Regions from separate parts of the Homo sapiens genome. Here all the other regions are linked to region 2. The links are contacts of gene promoters, found by promoter capture Hi-C in human tissues and cell types (Jung and others, 2019). All regions are on one chromosome and are shown on one strand. The core of a region is centred on a gene start or on the middle of the fragment in contact, and the rest is flanking DNA. Distances in the headings are between cores, read along the strand shown. Region 1 overlaps LRRC2 (leucine rich repeat containing 2). Region 2 holds the start of ALS2CL (ALS2 C-terminal like). Region 3 has its middle 6.1 kb from the start of RTP3.

Evidence for each region. Contacts are between HindIII fragments. The study calls those that stand out against the background at their distance.
Region 1: a contact is called between a fragment that was not itself captured here and the fragment with the promoter of ALS2CL in region 2, in 2 of the 25 tissues and cell types used here (liver and spleen).
Region 3: a fragment that was not itself captured here is called in contact with the fragment with the promoter of ALS2CL in region 2 in 2 of the 25 tissues and cell types used here (mesendoderm cells and spleen).

Annotation. Positions count from the first base shown.
Region 1 is chr3:46,560,254-46,563,142 of GRCh38, reverse strand. The region is part of intron 1 of LRRC2 (leucine rich repeat containing 2); the gene reads left to right. Among named protein-coding and RNA genes, the nearest start is that of LRRC2-AS1, 4.3 kb to the right of the region's middle. RefSeq lists an enhancer at 1-226. The HindIII fragment of the contact is 5,010 bases long and covers 1-2,889 here.
Region 2 is chr3:46,692,376-46,695,075 of GRCh38, reverse strand. It overlaps ALS2CL (ALS2 C-terminal like), which reads left to right and starts at 1,397. Exons shown (of 26, transcript NM_147129.5): 1 at 1,397-1,433. It also overlaps a transcript of TMIE not described here. RefSeq lists enhancers at 1-460, 2,042-2,700 and silencers at 1,093-1,172, 1,323-1,572, 1,303-1,597. The HindIII fragment of the contact is 18,920 bases long and covers 1-2,700 here.
Region 3 is chr3:46,502,616-46,505,543 of GRCh38, reverse strand. No RefSeq gene overlaps it. Among named protein-coding and RNA genes, the nearest start is that of RTP3, 6.1 kb to the right of the region's middle. The HindIII fragment of the contact is 6,994 bases long and covers 1-2,928 here.

The sequences.
Region 1 (2,889 bases), core at 362-2,861, 130 kb after region 2:
AGGTGATAACTGGAGGTGTGGATGAATGTGTGTGTGTGTGCATGCATGTGTGTGTGTGCATACTATCTGCATAGTGGGTGGGCAGAGTGAGGAAACGAAGCAAAAGAAGTGACTTCTGGCCGAGTACAGTGGCTCATACCTGTAATCTCAGCACTTTGGGATGCCGAGGCGGGCAGATCACCTGAGGTCAGGAGTTTGAGACTAGCCTGGTCAACATGGTGAAACCCTATCTCTACTAAAAATACAAAAATTAGCCGGATATGGTGGCTTTTGCCTGTAATCCCAGCTACTCAGGAGGCTGAGGAAGAATTGCTTGAACCCAGGAAGTGAAGTTTGCAGTGAGCTGAGATTGTGCCACTGCACTCCAGCCTGGGTGACAGAGTGAGACTTCATCTCAAAAAAAAAAAAAAAGAAGTAACTTCTAGATCTTCTAGATTATGATGGAGTCATTCCTGAGGTGTGGAATTAAAGGAGGCCTAGGATGGACAAACTCTAAAGGAGCAAGTTTGGAGAACATCATGTTTCTTTGAGATATGTGTGAGACATCCAAGTGCATATTCAAGGAGGCAGCTGAACATGCACACCAGATGGCACCAGAAGTTAAGACTGATTTTTAAAGTGTCTTTTATAAAAATCCACTGTCTTGGTTATTTATTGCTGCATAACAGTTTATTCTAGACTGTTAGTTTAGAATAACACACATTTATTATCTCACAGTTTCTGAGAGTCAGAAATCCAGGGCAGTTTAGCTGAGTGTTTCTGGCTTAGGGTCTCATGAAGTTGTGGTCAAGATGTCCACAGGGGCTGCCGTCATCTGAAGGCTTGACTGGGGATGGAGGATCTGCTTTTAAGACAGCCCCCTCTCATGGCTGTTGACAGGAGGCCTCAGTTCCTCTCCTTGTGAAGCTTTTCCACAAGGCTGCTTGAGCATCATCATGACATGGCAGCTGACTTCCTAGAGTGAGTGATCTGACAGAGAGTGAAGACCTAGTCTCAGAAGCCACACACCATTACTTTCACCACATTCTAGTCATTAGAAGTGAGTCACTAAGTCTAGCCCATGCTCAAGGGGGGAGGAATTAAGTTCTACCTTTTTAAAGGGAAGAATGTGAAAGACTTTGTGGATATAGTTTAAAACCATCACATCCACCAAAGCAAAATATTTTACATTTTATTGTCCACTAAAGCTAGGATCAGTAAACTATAACCTGCAGGCCTGGCACCTGTTTACATATGGAATGTGGGCACTGCTGGAGCATCTGGGGACCAAGCTGGGGTATTTTCTTCTGTTTCTACTCCCCCACTGCTCTCAGCTCCTGTCCACCTGGCCAGCTGTACCTTGCTGCAGTCCAGGGCCCACCCTGGTTGCCATCTACACATTGGAGACTCTATTGTTAGCAACCAAGCAATGGAATCTCAGTTCAGGAGCTGGTGACTGAGTAGGTCACCTTGCTTCCAGCCAGCTATCCAACTTGTGATGACGGGAGGAGAGAAGGACACACAGGCACCTGTCTGGGTGATACTGGGGCAGAGAAAGAAATGGACTGCAGCAGGCTCACTCCCCGGCCCCTTCCCCTGCCAACCTCTCCCCTCTCTTTTTGTTTTTTTGAGACCCAGGCTGGAGTGCACTGATGCAATCTCAGCTCACTGCAACATCTGCCTCCCAGGCCCAAGTGATCCTCTCACATCAACCTCCTTAGTAGCTGGGACCACAGATGCATGCCACCACCCAGCTATTTTATTTATTCATTTTATTTTTTATTTTTGGTAAAGACAGGGTTTTGCCATGTTGCCCAGGCTGCTCTCAAACTCCTGAGCTTAAGCAATCCACCCACCTCAGCCTCCCAAAGTGCTGTGATTACAGGTGGGAGCCACTGCACCCAGCCACCCTGCCCCTTTTTCACCATACCTACTAGCCCTTTCCCTCTTGGGCTAGTCCCTCTTGTTCTGAGAATGTTTTTGGCAAGCAGCAGCTGGACATGAAACATGCTAACTACTCCGGATGGTTCTCTGGGGGCAAGCAGGGAGAGGCTCGCCAGAGGGTTCTCCTTTGTTATGTAAACGCCTACATATATCTTCAATTTTGCTTATTGGCCTGGGAAACCTCTATTATTTACCATCAAGTTTTCTCAGCCCTGTACTAAAACAAAAGATTTTCCAGGCATTATTTTCCTTAATCTAACCTTTGAGAGTGTGCTGATGGTTAACATTTTCACTCAGGAGCTGGAACACTAAGTGTCTGGGAGTCCTTGGACTGGAGAGGAACATGGCTGATGACACTTTGTGGCCCCAGTGTTCTTTCCTTTACAGTGAGAGATGCCACCGTTCTCCTTCTGTCTCATCATTGCAGGTGTTTTCTTCTCTGGAAGATGCTCTGTGACTGTGGACAGTGTAGCCCAAATTGAGGGAGGCTTGTTCTCATAATTCTGCTACAACCACACAAAACCAGACCCACAGCAGGGAACCGGAATCAGATGCTGTCTTGGAACCATGACACTTTGCTGTCAAATTCAACGAGGGTCCAGGCTGAAGCTTTACACTTAGGCTGCTTTGTAGAATCTACTTCGTTGTAAAGTTTCCTATAAGAGGATATTGCTTTGTTTGTATTGAGGGTCTCTTGACTGGATCCCGTAGAGGTTAATTTTTCCCTTTTCTGTGTTGGGGTAGCATATGATGATGATGACATTTCTATAGTCCTAAAGAAAGTTAATGCTTAGGACATTGCATTCTATGTCTTTGCCTGAAAGATTGTGTTGACTAGAGTTTATTTTACAAAGAAGAGATTAGCTTTGTAAATTTGTGAGGAGATCTCTCCCCTGAGCTGCTGAGGGACTGGCACCTGTGTCTGTCCCTGACAACTGTGTCCTATGGGCTCCCCAGTGTGGTTTC
Region 2 (2,700 bases), core at 148-2,647:
AGGGCATGGGGAGGGGAGGCTTTCCCAGAGGGCCAGAGGGACACCTCACCAGAAGCCTCCTTGAGGTAGCCCCCACCCACCAACACAGCAACACCTCTAGCAGGCAGGGACCAGAGGAGCAAGGCCTTTGGGAGTGGAGCCCCTCAGGCAGCAGGGGGTGCAGAAGGGGGCAAGAAAACAAGGCTGGAAAAGGGGAGGCCAGAGCTAGGGCGGGCTTTGGCAATGTGGGGAGGGATGGAGAAGCAGGAAGGGGCGGCTCTGCAGGATTGGGACCCAGGAGGAGAGCAATGTGGGGCAAAAGGGTGAGGTCACTGGGACCTGCAGTCACTCAGACAAGGGTCCCAGGCTGGAAACCCTCCAAGGGGTGATGTGCAGCTTGGCAGACAGTAAACTCCCACCTCGCAACAACCCAAGGGAGCCAGGGGATGAGCTTGGCAGGCCCCAGGCCCCTACTTACCTCCACTGGGGGTCTCTTCAGCCTGGCAGGTTGGGGGATGCCTCCCACCTCCTCAGTAGGGGGCTGAGTAGGGGGCTGGTGGGCCACCCTTTCTGCTCTTCCACGGCCGCCTTGGACCCTGAGCCTCCCCCTCACTGGAACCTGAGTGCCACTGAGAGCAATGGGTGACTAACCTGGTGGCCAGAGGGGGAATCAGGCTGCTGACGGGGGGCTTCTTTGTTACAGGTTTGAACTAAGTTCCCTCCCGCTCCCGGGGGGTCTGTCCCAGATAAGTCTTCAGCCACCCTTTCCAAGGTCTCAGGCCTTCGCACAAAGCACACGCGGCCGGCTTCATGCTCTACTAGGCCTGTTGAGACTCAGGAGTGGGGAGGAAAGGGGACTTCCCCAAGGTCGCACAGGAGGGGCGGCCGGCCGTGGACACCCAGCCCAGGGGGCCGCAGGGCGCCTCAGTATACCCCTCTACAGGCTCCAAGTTCCACGAACCCACACAGCGCTCCGCGTGTGCTGGCTTCTGTGACTCAGGGCAGACCCGGGAGGTCACGGGGCTGCACCACAGGCTCGCAGAGCGACTGACTGGCGGGGCGAGGTGGTGGCACGGCGGCCTCGGAGCCTTGCAGGGGAAGCGGGGCGCGAGAGGCGAGCCTGAGTGTGCGCGTGGGTGCGTAGGGGGCGGAGGGGTCAAGACTCCCACTTTTCCTCCCCGCGCCGGGTCCCAGGGGCCTCCGGATCCCGGGGGACGCCAGAGGGAGGCCTCAGGAGAGGCTTGGGGCGGCGGGACGGATCAATACCGCGCGCCAGCTCCTCGGTGGCCCGCCCGTGGCCCCCGCAACTCCAGAGCAACACCCGGAGGCGGGGCGGGGCGGGGCTGGGCGAAGGGGGCGGGGCTGGCAGGGGGCGGGACTGGCAGGGGGCAGGGTGGGGGTGCGAGCGAGGAGCCGCACAGGCAGTCCCGGCGCGGGGCAACCACAGCGCTCAGGTAAGGGCGCGACGAAGGGCGCGCGTCTGCGGACGGGTGTCTGCGCTCCACGCTTAGCTCGTCCAGGTGGGGGCTCCCGCCTCCTCGGCTGCTGCGGTCCCCGCCCAGCTCCTTGGTCCCGGCGGCAGTCATCCCCCGGCCGTCCGAGTCCCTCGTAAGATACCCCGCTCACAGCGTCGTCCTCCCTGCCTGGCTGCTAGCCTGCTTGGGTTCGGGGCAGCGCCCCGGGCCTGACCTGAGCCGTGGTGGCAGGGCCACGGGGCCCCAGCCAGCAGGAGAGACTGCCAGGAGGAGGTGACGCCGGCTGGTTAGGGCGGAAGGGCCCGACCCGGGATTCCAGGAGGTGGCCTTTTCGCATGGGAGCGGCATGGCAAATGCCTGGCGGCCGGAACAGGAGCTCGGGTCTGGGAAACTCCAGCGACTGAGTGTGTGCCTGGGCAGGGAGAGGAAGGGAAGCTGGGACATATGCGACAGCAGGGAGGGGTGCTTGTCTAGGACAAGAGGCTTGTAGCCATGGTGGGGCCGAGGAAGGGTGCAGCGGGGAGAGGCGAGCATGAGACTGAGGGATCAGGTGTGACAGTTCAGCGCCCCCTCCCTGGGGCAGTGCGTGTCTCTACTCTCCCCCACTGGGCACCAGACAACGAAGGGGCTGCCACGGCAGCCCATGAAAAAGCCTCCACAGCAGGCAGAACTTCCCTGCCTGTTCAGACCAGGAAATACCAGAGTGAGTGAGTGTCACGACAAGGTGTGTCAGGGGCCTAAGGAGCCAGGCCTGGGAGAGGACAGGGAAGGCCCCAGTGACCCTGCCCGGGAGGGACCTAGCGTGGACAGAGGCCAGGAATGCAGAGGAGAGACCAGGTCTGGCTACTGGTTAGAGCGCCACAGGGGCAGCCGCTGACTCACCTGGGCACGCCGTGACTGGCCAGTTCTGTCCTCACCCTGCCCCACCCCACCGCACCCCGTGGTGAGCATCAGGGCTGCCTGAGGACAGCTGTGAGGCAGGGCCCGTCAGGATCTTGCTCTGTGCCTCAGGTGAGTTGCCCACCCTCTCTGAGCCATCTAGCTAGGTGAACCTGGTGGGCTGGAGCCAGAAGTCTGGGTCTGAGCCCTGCACAAGTTCTACACAAGGGTCTCTGGACCCTCCCATTGTTCCTGGGCCTCAGTTTCCCCATCTGTACATTAGGCACAGCCTGTCACTAAGGAACCTTTGAACTGGAGGGAGGGAGAGGGTGAGGAAGCTATGCCCTTGACTGGAAGGGGGAAGGTT
Region 3 (2,928 bases), core at 29-2,528, 190 kb after region 2:
CATGGTCTCATGAGTAGCTAAGAAGAGGCAGAGGGAATTTGTGAGCAAAAGCCTAGGAGTGGGAAAGATAAATTAGCCAAGGCATGGTTGTAGGTGTGGTTTGAGGGGACAGGTGGGAGATGTGAACTGCCAGAATGACATTCCAGAAGGACAATGTGAGGATGCAATGTGCCCTAGAGGGAGCACTAGGATGCAGGCAAGGCACAACTCCAGTCGATGGAGGGGGGCAGATGGGGAGAGGATGGGGATGGGGTGAGTGAAAAGAAGTTATTGGCTGTAAGTGACTATTACACTAATTTCCATTGCATAAATGGAAGGATTCACATTTCTAGTTTTTTTAAAAAAAGGTGTGAGAAGGAGTCTTAAAATTAATGTCATTAATCAAGACAGAGCATGTTCAAAAGACTGCTTTGGTTTCAGAGTCCTGGTGATATGGTTTGAAAGTGTCCCCACCCAAATTTCGTCTTGAATTGTATTTCTCATAATCCCCACGAGTCATGGGAGGGGCCCACTGGGAGGTAATTGAATCATGGGGGCGGTTACCCTCATGCTATTCTTGTGATAGTTAGTGGGTTCTCACGAGATCTGATGGTTTTATAAGGGACTTTCCCCGCTTTGCTTGGCACTCATTCTCTCTTTTGCCACTCTGTGAAGAGGTGCCTTCTGCCATGATTGTGTTCCTGAGGCCTCTCCAGCCATGTGGAACTGTGAGTCAATTAAACCTCTTTTCTTTATAAATTACCCAGTCTTGGGTATTTCTTCATAGCAGCGTGAGAATGGACTAATACACCTGGTAAGAATCTGTCCACAGACTTCCACATTTGCTCCTTTAGAATGGGAGTCCTCAGTATTTCTTTTTTATTATTTTTATTATTTTTGTGATCATCCAGCCCAAAATGTCAGTCTCAATGTTTTTGTTGTTGTTGTTGTTGTTATTGTTGTTTGTCTTTTTTGTTTTGTTTTATTTTGAGACGGAGTCTCTCTCTGTCGCCCAGGCTGGAGTGCAGTGGCGTGATCTCGGCTCACCAAAAGCTCCACCTCCCAGGTTCACACCGTTCTCCTGCCTCAGCCTCCCGTGTAGCTGGGACTACAGGTGCCCGCCATCATGCCTGGCTAATTTTTTTTTTTTGTATTTTTAGTAGAGACGGGGTTTCACTGTGTTAGCCAGGATGGTCTCGATCTCCCGACCTCGTGATCCTCCCGCCTCGGCCTCCCAAAATGCTGGGATTACAGGCATGAGCCACCAAGCCTGGCCTCAGTCCCAGTGTTTTTGATTGGACAATGGGGTTAAAAAAAATTGAGCATGCATTCCAAATGTGTGTGTATTTGTTATTCATGCATCCTCTGCATACTTATGCATACCATTATTCTAATATATTTGCATACATTATAAAAACATACCATAAGAAATAATAAACTTTAAAGAAAAACTAAACAGGATATCTCTCCCTCCTCAGTGGTGCATCCTGCCTTACCCCTCAGTCACAGGTGGCCCCAGGGAGACCACTCCCTGAGAACCCATGTTTTCAGCCTAACTGGCTCCTTCCTCAGCAGACTCACACTGTGGCAGTCTCCCCTCATCTCCACCAGTTTTGTTTCTCAATATTACTTTGCTCATCTCAAAGGTTACCTAGATTTAAGGGCCCTCTTAAATTCTCCCTTTTGACTATTTCTTTTCTTTCAGCCTCTCTCTCTGTGCTCCTCCCACTGACTCTCAACTTCAGGGAAAGGGGGAGGGTGCAGGGGAGAAAATCTGGAATAGAAGTCCTAGAAGCTTCTGGCCTTGGGCTCTGAGCAGCTGTGGACAATGCCCCAGCCACTGTGGGTATTCCGAGGATGAAGAGCAGCTGTTTATGTGGAAGGGTGCTAGGAACGTGCTATATTTTGAATATTTGACCTTTTAAACTTCATGATGAAATTGGACCCCCAGTGTTAGAGGTGGGGCCTAATGGGAAATGTTTGGATTATGGGGACGAATCCTTCATGAATGGCTTGGTGCCATCCTTGGTGTAATGAGTGAGTTCTAGCTCTTAGTTCCTGCCAGAGTCAGTTGTTAGAACCCGGCACCACCCCGCACCTCTCTTGCTTCCTCTTTCCCCATGTGATCCCTACTTGTGCTGGCTCTCCTTCACCTGTCATGAGCAGACACAGCCTGAGGCCCTCACTCGAAGCAGATGCTAGTGCCATGCTACTTGTACACTCTGCAGAACTGTGAATGAAACAAGCCTCTTTTCTTTGTAAATTACCCAGACTCAGCTATTCCTTTACAGCAACGTAAACAGACTTAGACAGTATGCCTGTGCAGGGAAGGGCCCATAAGCCAATGCTGGTCTCTCATCTGCTTAAGCTTGACAAACATAATTCCAGGATCTATTTGGAACACCCTCTACTGTCACCCAGGCCTACCCACTCTGGAAACAGATATTTATCAACATAAATACCAGCTTGCATTACCATCCCTTATCTGGCAAAGCCAGGGCAGGCTTGGTACTCTCTTCCCTTCCCCTAGGGGGTGGCTTTGTCATGACCCTCCATACACTCACCTCAGTCTTCCAACCCAGAGGCCACTCTCCTTGGAACAGGGTCAATTCCCAGCCTAGACACTCACTGTCAACTCTTTCTGAATACTGCACTGGGCCCTCGTGTGTTGCTGGGAGGAGGCCATCTCTGGCCTTTGTATACTGGGAGATAGTGGGAGCTCAGGGAGGGGTGTGGGTCTCCTTTCACTTTCCTGCTGACCTGCTGGAGGCCTTAGGTCAAATTTTAATTTGCACAGGAGCAATACCAGTATTCATCCGGTTCAGGTCATGCCCCAAGCCCACCACTTGGACACCCCCTTCCTCTTCCCTGCAGACACTAGGCAGCAGCTGTCACTGGTCAGACAATATATTTGTGAGCAGGTGTATGTATGTCAGAGGGTAATTTTTT